Regions from separate parts of the Homo sapiens genome. Here region 2 is linked to region 1. The links are contacts of gene promoters, found by promoter capture Hi-C in blood cells and fetal thymus (Javierre and others, 2016). All regions are on one chromosome and are shown on one strand. Each heading gives the region's core, a stretch centred on a gene start or on the middle of the fragment in contact. The rest is flanking DNA. Distances are from core to core; before and after follow the strand shown. Region 1 holds the start of CXCL14 (C-X-C motif chemokine ligand 14). Region 2 has its middle 47 kb from the start of SLC25A48-AS1.

Region 1 (3,854 bases), core at 534-3,033:
TTAGACGAGTGAGATTTAACTTGGAATTCCCCTGTCATTCTTAGCCCCCAAACTGGAAGCCCTGAGGAGCTTGGAGCTCCTTTCCCAGCTCATTTGACACTTGGCCCCCACCCAAAAGGATTTTTGGGTATTTTCTTTGAATTTGGTCTGCAAGGCAAGGGGTAGGGACAAGCAAGTTAATTTAGGTGTCTGTGAAGGAAGGCAGTGGGGTCAGCTCAGTTCCAGTGGATTTCTGAATTCCCCTAATTTCAGCCTGACAGTGTAGCCCCTAGACGGGGATGGGGGGTGCTGGGTAGGGGTGTGCACTGCTTTCGCAGACACTGTGAAGGCCTTTGCGCCGGTGGGGGCCAGCTGGTGGAGGGCACTTGCCCAGACTGAGAATAAAGTGCGTCCTGTTTCTGGGGGAGGGGAAGAGGGGCCAATGGTCTGTGGCAAATATTTGGTAGCCGCTTTGCCAAGGGCTCCCTTCCTGGCCAAGAGCATATTGATGAGGAGGCAGCGGTGCTGGCCTCAAGTGGTTAATTGGGAAGGCGGAGGAGCAAGAAACTAAGTGTTCTCTCACTCTGCCCCAGTTTTTCCAACATTCCCCACATCCCCACCAAGCAGGGCTCCAGCCATGTGGCACATTAACCCCAGCAGAGCACTTTCTGCAGTACTGCTCCGTATTGGGGACCCACAAGGAGTACAGTCGGTGAGGGAAGCTCGTGGAGCGTTCTCAAAATAAAATCTCTAGGAGCCAAAAACTTGCGGTCCACTTGTCTCTGACTGGAACAAGGCTCTGAAGGAGACTCAGGATTTAAGATAGTGTTTGCATTAGTCCTCTATCCAGTGACAGGAAGGCAGCACGCCTCACAGTTTGGGTGTGAGTGTGTTTTAAGTGATTTCAGTCTAGGTTTTCTGAGTTGGCACAAGGGAACCCTTTAACCCTTGATGGCCCTAGCAGAGTGGGTGGCCCATGGTACAAATAGGGAGACTGCTCATTTGAATCCTAGCAAGGGTGAACTTGGAGGCGCTGTTCCGGAGCGGGACAGTGACCCCCCTTCCCGACTGTCTTCCAGAGTGTCTCGCCAGCGTCCTAAGGACTCTCTGGGCAATTACAAAGGCTTTTCCAGGGCCTTGACAAAGTCGGAGAGAAATGTTTGTTAGCCCGACCCAGGCCCAGGCTGTGCCCTGGCATTGGGTTGACAGCAGTGCGCACCCCCTCAAGGTGAGGAGCGAGAACTCACATAACCATCTTCTCCTCGCAGTGCGGGTACTTTGGCTTCATTTCCAGCTTCTTCACGTCGCTGTAGCGGATCTTGGGTCCCTTCCGGGAGCACTTGCATTTGGACCCTGCGAGCGAGCGCGGGGCAACGGCTTAGTTGCTAGGCGGTCTCCTGCCCCTCGACCACCTTGGTGCCCACCCAGACCACCCCCCGCGGGATCCCAGGATGCCTAGAAATTGGCGCTTGGGTTCCCCAGGACAGGACAAGACGAGACGGCGACAAGGGGAGCTCCCCGCACTCACCGTCCACACGCGCGGTGTACAGCGCCAGCAGCAGCAGGAGCAGCGCGGCCGCCAGGAGCCTCATGCTGACCGGAGGGGCGCGGCGTGGGAGCAGGGACATGGGGAGGGCGCTGGCCCGTCGGAGCGGCGGCCCGGAGACGCCACCCAGCTCTGCTCGGCTTTCTCTGCCCGGGGCGCGCCTTCCGGCTCTGCTGGCTCCGGCTGCGCCGTCGGTGGATGCCCAGGGCTGTCTGTGGCCGTGCGCTGCGCTCTGCGCTTGTCTCCGCGCTCTCTCCACAGCCTCCCTCCGCCCGCCCTGGCCTCTTTTAAATCCGCTCCTGCCCTCGCAGCGAGCGAGCTCATTAATATGCAGAACCACTCGGTGACTCACTGAGATTTCTCAATGTGGTGAGGGGAGGAGACCTTCCCAGCCCGCCCGTCGCCCGCCCCGGGAAAGGACCCGCTATCGCAGCGGCGCACACCCGGAGCCACGCGCGCACACGCACACACACATCCGCTACCCTCTCGCTCACACAACACGCCGCCTTCGCACACTTGCACACCCATACCACAGCGCGCACACATTTCCAGCGTCCCGCTCTGCCTTTGGGGAGCCCAGACGGTGGAGAGGCTGCTGAAGGGCACTGCTTTTCTGAATCGTGTGGTTCTCTCTCTGGCCCGGCAGGCCAGCTTTTCCGAGCCGGCGGGAGACCCAGGCCCAGGGCTCAGATCCTCAAAGACCTGAAAGGGTTTTGGAGCAGGTGCCAAGTGTGAGTGCCTGCAGGCCTGACCCCCAAGGGCCCCTGCTGGGCCAGAACACAAGGCCAGTTCTGGACAGGGGCTTGTCATAGACTGTCCAGCAGCAAAGTCATTGACTGTGATCACTGGAACTGACTCAAAGAGGGTATGTGTGTGTATGCGGGGGTGGGGACGGGTATTGGGGAGGAGTTTTGGTGACTCCCAAAGGAAAGCTCCTTAAAGTGGGTCAGTGGCCTGGTGGCTGTGTGAGTGTCTGGGTGGTGGGGAGAACCAGGAGGAGTCCTCACTCTCACACTACTCTCCAAAGCCAGGTAGAGAGCCCTAGTGGAGAGCGATGACAGTGGTAACCATCTGGATGAAGGCCTTCCCATGTTCTAGACATTGTGCCAGAATGCGAGGTATAGTGGTGTGAGCCCAGCCATAGTGGCAGAAATTCCCTCCTCACTACTTTCCAGCACAAGTGACTTTACCGCTCTCAGCTTTTGTTTCATCATCTGTAAAGTGCAGATCATCACAGTGTTTCTGATAGGGTGGCTGTGAGAACTATAGAAATCATACATGTTGTCAGTACCCAGGAAATGTTACTTATTGGCACCATCGTTTTATGTCTAATTTATCTATTACTTTGATTCTTACCAATTGGTACTTTTCTTCCAAGTTGGTACTTTTAATTTCTTTATTTGACAGGTGTGGAAACATGCTCTGAGAGAAGAAATAACTTGTCCAAGGTCACAGAGCTAGGAAGCAGGTGACTAGGCCAGGAGGGTCCTCAGTATATACGGCTGCAGAACTGGGACTCCTGTCCCTGGACCACTCTGTTGCTTTGAGGCCTGTCTGCCCTTCACTTCTTGCTGCCTTGAGAGACCCAGAGACAGGAGGTGGATCATCTCAAGCTCTTGGAGTCCCTGGGCTTGGCTGTCAGGAGAGAGCTCACCCAGCTCTATGCCATCAGCCTGGCAGTTCCCTGGAGGCAAAAATGCCCAGAGGGCTTCTGGATGATGGGGACAGTCTGCTGAAGGGTGCAATGGGAAGAATCTGTGTCGTCTCTTCCCAACTGGAGAGCCCTTGCTGCTTCAAGAAGAAGCTGAGCCATGAAAAGCAAGCAGCGCCTATGCGTGCTGTTGTGCCTATACCTAAAGCAAAGCCAATAGCTGGACATTTGCATTTATGCATGAGATGAGTATGAGGGAGTGACTTTTGGCATTTATGTTAGTTTTTAACTCTAAAAATAATTTTTTAAAATATAGAAACAACACGTTTGCCCAGAAAAATCAGAAAACCCAAGCAGAAGAAAACTAACATTTTCACGCAAGTAAAATCTTGGGTGAAATCTTCCCAAAGCATCCTCTTTTTGCTTTGTGTGCACATGTACACATGGGATCAGGCTGCATGTAGTCTTTAATAACCTGCTTGCTATACCTATTAGCATATTGTGAACATCGCTCCATGTGGCTAGCCTTGCTACAACAATAGCTCCCTTAATGGTTTCATCTGAGGCCGGGTAGTATAATGGCTAAGAGGCTGGTGTCTGGAGTCAAATTGCCTGAGTATGCATCCTAGGGACTAGCTGTGTGACTTTGGGCAAATACCTTAACTCTATTTGGTATTG
Region 2 (3,710 bases), core at 663-3,162, 120 kb after region 1:
CAAAGGGCACTAGCCGTAAAAAGAAACAAGAATAAACTGGTCATCAACAGTAAAAGTTTCTGGTTTTCATCCTCAGAAGATACCAATAAAGAAATGAATAAGTCATTTGAAATACATATATTTGAAATACATACATCTGATCAAGGAATTATATCCAGAATATATATTTTAAAACTTCTGTGGATCAGAAAAAAGGACAAACAAGTTAATTTATAAAATGAGAACGGAGATCTCACAAAGGAAGATATGTGAATGGCCAATGCACTCATGAAAAGATGCTCCAGATCATTAGTCATCAGGGAAATGCAAATCAAACCCATCCTAAAATATTAACTCACACCCAATAGAATGATGAAAATAAAAAGGACGGGTAACACCAAATGCTGGTGAGGATATGGAATGAATGGAACTCTCATACAATACTGGTAAGAACATAAATGATAAAACCGCTTTGGAAAACGGTTTGGCAGCATATCTATAATATGACCCAGTGATTTGATTTCTAATTATTTACCATAGAGAAGTAAAAACATATGTCCGTACAGAGACTTATACAGGAATGTTTATAGCAAACTTATTTATAATAGCCGGAAGCTGGAAACAAACCAAGTGTTCAACAGGAGAATAGATTTTTAAATGTGATGTGTATACATTACGATGTGATATTATGCATCAAGGAGAAAGAACAAACTACTAACACCTGCAACAATATGGATGAATCCCCCAAAAACATTACGCTGGGAAAAAAAAAAAGCCAGACATGGAAGAATGAGACCAAGAGATACATGACATGATTCCATTTACATGAAGTACTGGAATAAGCACAACTTGTCTACGATGATGGAAAAGTTGCCTCTGGGAGCAAGGAGGCAGAGCGTGATTGAAAAAGGGCACGAGGGAACTTCCAGGGTGACTGGAAATTGGGTCTGTACAATTATCAGCACTCATCAACTGGAACACGTGAGATCTGTGCATTTTATTATGTGTAACATGTTCTATATTTCATAACTTGATTTTAAAAACAATGGTAATAGCCAGCATGGACTGAAGACTCCCTCTGTGTAGCACAGTGATAGACTGCCTAGTGAGGGTCTCAGCAATGCTCACAGCCACCTGCTTGGTAAGTGTTGAGAGAGGAGCTTCTTAGTCATGCAGCATGCATTATTATCTGGTTCTTTAATATCCAGTCTCTTATTACACTTTCCAGTGCTCCCTGAAAGCTTGTATCAAAAGCTATCCTGACACCCTGTTTTTACCCAATGAGGAGATGGAGTCTCTGAGGGGTTACAAAGCCACTGAATGGTGGAGACAGAATCTCAACTCCGTGGCCTGAAGCCTTATTCCCTTTAATTCTGTCTGCCCCTCATTTTGTTATCTCTGAGTCCCCACCAGCATTTGACACATGGCCTTGCAGTCCTGCACTTAGAAAATGGTATTGGGCTGAGCACTGTGGCTCATGCCTGTAATCCCAGCACTTTGGGAGGCCAACTCCTGAGGTCAGGAGTTCGAGATCAGCCTGGCCAACATAGCAAAACCCCATCTCTACTAAAAATACAAAAATCAGCCGGGTCTGGTGGCGTGTGCCTGTAATCCCAGCTACTTGGGAGGCTGAGACAGGAGAATTGCTTAAACCCAGGAGGGGGAGGTTGCAGTGAGCCGAGATCATGCCACTGCACTCTAGCCTGGGTGACAGAGCAAGACTCTGTCTCAAAAAAAAAAAAAAAAAAAAAAGAAAGAAAGAAAAGAAAATGATATTGGACTGAAAATGTGAATTTTAGTCAGCCAAATATTGAGTGAATGCCTGCTAAACATCAAACGCTATGCTAGGGGCCGAGGACAGCAATGAAGGAGGGTGCCCAGCCTCTAGAGCCCATCTCTGGGAGAGGCCCCCACGGGCAGATGTCTGGTGGCCCCTGTGTGTTTGCTGTTCCTTGTGTTCCTCCCTGGCTGTCTCCAGCCCTAAGGCCCAGGCTTAGGTTTTATATTTTGTGGCCCAGGTTGTAAATACTGTTCTCAATGGTGCAGGCACCCTCCTCTCTTCATAGGCACCCTGTCTGAGGGAGAGTTCTGCAGTCCCCTCAGGCTCTGGGTGCCTACCTGGGCCTCTGCATGGCTCCCCATGTCTGCAGCTCTAGCAGGGGTGCACCTACCAGTAACAACACAGTGGATACCACTTGTGCACGTGCTCCGAGGCCTGCCAGGCCTGCCTCTGCTCCCAGCTGCTAAGGCAGATTTGGTGCAGGTTGAGGCATGACAGGGTCTCATAAATCGCAGAGGGCCTGGGACCTGGGGGAGCTCACTTTCCTGCCTTGGAATCAGGAGGCAGCTCTGCTGGGCTCCATCCTGCCTATAGATCTGGCAATGGGCCATCCTCCACTGCACAGAGTGACCTGGGGACCTGCAGCTCTCCCCACTCCTAGAGTATTGTCAGCCACCAGTTCCAGTAGTAATGGGCCGAGTAGCACCCATCTTCCTCAGAGTGTGGGCCGTCAGTCCTCCAGTCAAGAACCCCCAGGACTGATGCTCAGCCTGCCTGCCCTGGTCCACTTGGCCCAGGCTGTGTACCACCCTGCTCTCCCCTCATCGTCTCTGATTACTGGGAACCAAAGCTTCAGTGACATGGCTAGTGATGGCTCCATCTAGGTCACATCCTGAGGTTCAACAACTTCACATCTTGGGAGTTTTTTTCTGATAATCACCTCTACCCTGTTCTCACCCTCCTTGTTACCAAAGTTAGCCAAACTGCCTATGTCTAAGCAGGGGACCTGGTGACATATTGGGAGCAGTATTTTGAGGAACATAACTCCCCCCCGCCACCGGCCCCCACCACATATACACCCTGAACACTGAATTGCATATTGCAAAGCTTTTGCTGTGCATTTTCTCATTCATTCCCAATGTCATCCTTTAAGGTACACAATAAAGGACTGTCCCTCCCACTTTTAAAAGAGACAGGCCCCAAAACTCTTGGTAGCATAGGCCATGGCCTTTGATAGTGTCTGAGCCAGCAGACTAATAGGCAGCCCATGCTCCATGTTCCCTCGGCAAGGTCCTCATGTGGTCCAGATCTGGGCATTCCTCATATGTGGCTGGATGGGCTATATGGAGTGTATCCTTGGGTGAACTCGAGATGGAACCCAGCAAGATCAAAAGAGAAGCTGTCTTGCCCCTGCCAACCTGTCCTCCACATGGAAACAAGAGTGATTATTTCCTTCTAAAAAATTAATCTGACCATGTCACTCTTTTGCTTAACATCCTTATTGTGTGCCCAGGCACTGGGCTCCATGCTTTATATATTTATCTCTTTAATCTTGCAACAATTCTAAGAGGTAGGTGTTAGGATGTTTACATATGGATGAGAAAGATGAGCCTGGAGATACTGCATTTACTAACTTGCTGGAAATCATAGCAATTGCAGGGGTGGGAATTTGGCTACAAAGTCTATACATTGAGCCACCTCATGAACTGCTTCCTGCTTTTTCATTTTTCTCTAACTTACCTCTAGTGGGTTCCATAATATCCTCCCAAAAGATATGTCCACGTCCTAATGCCTGGTACCTCTAAATGTCACCTTATTTGCAAATGGGTCTTTGCAGGTGTAACCAAGTTAAGACGAGGTCATGCTGGGTTAGGGTAGGCCCTATATCCAATGACCAGTGTCCTTATCAGCAGGCCATGTGAAGACACAGAGACACAGGGAGGATGCCATG

The links. The method cuts DNA at HindIII sites, captures the fragments that hold promoters and counts their contacts. A CHiCAGO score of 5 or more calls a contact.
Region 2: a fragment that was not itself captured here is called in contact with the fragment with the promoter of CXCL14 in region 1 in 1 of 17 cell types (M1 macrophages); the score reaches 5.3 in M1 macrophages.

The regions. Positions count from the first base shown.
Region 1 is chr5:135,577,208-135,581,061 of GRCh38, forward strand. CXCL14 (C-X-C motif chemokine ligand 14) reads right to left here and starts at 1,784. Exons shown (of 4, transcript NM_004887.5): 1 at 1,508-1,784; 2 at 1,227-1,332. The coding sequence starts at 1,571. It also overlaps a transcript of SLC25A48 not described here. The HindIII fragment of the contact is 10,061 bases long and covers 1-3,854 here.
Region 2 is chr5:135,698,663-135,702,372 of GRCh38, forward strand. It overlaps a transcript of SLC25A48 not described here. Among named protein-coding and RNA genes, the nearest start is that of SLC25A48-AS1, 47 kb to the left of the region's middle. The HindIII fragment of the contact is 1,389 bases long and covers 1,219-2,607 here.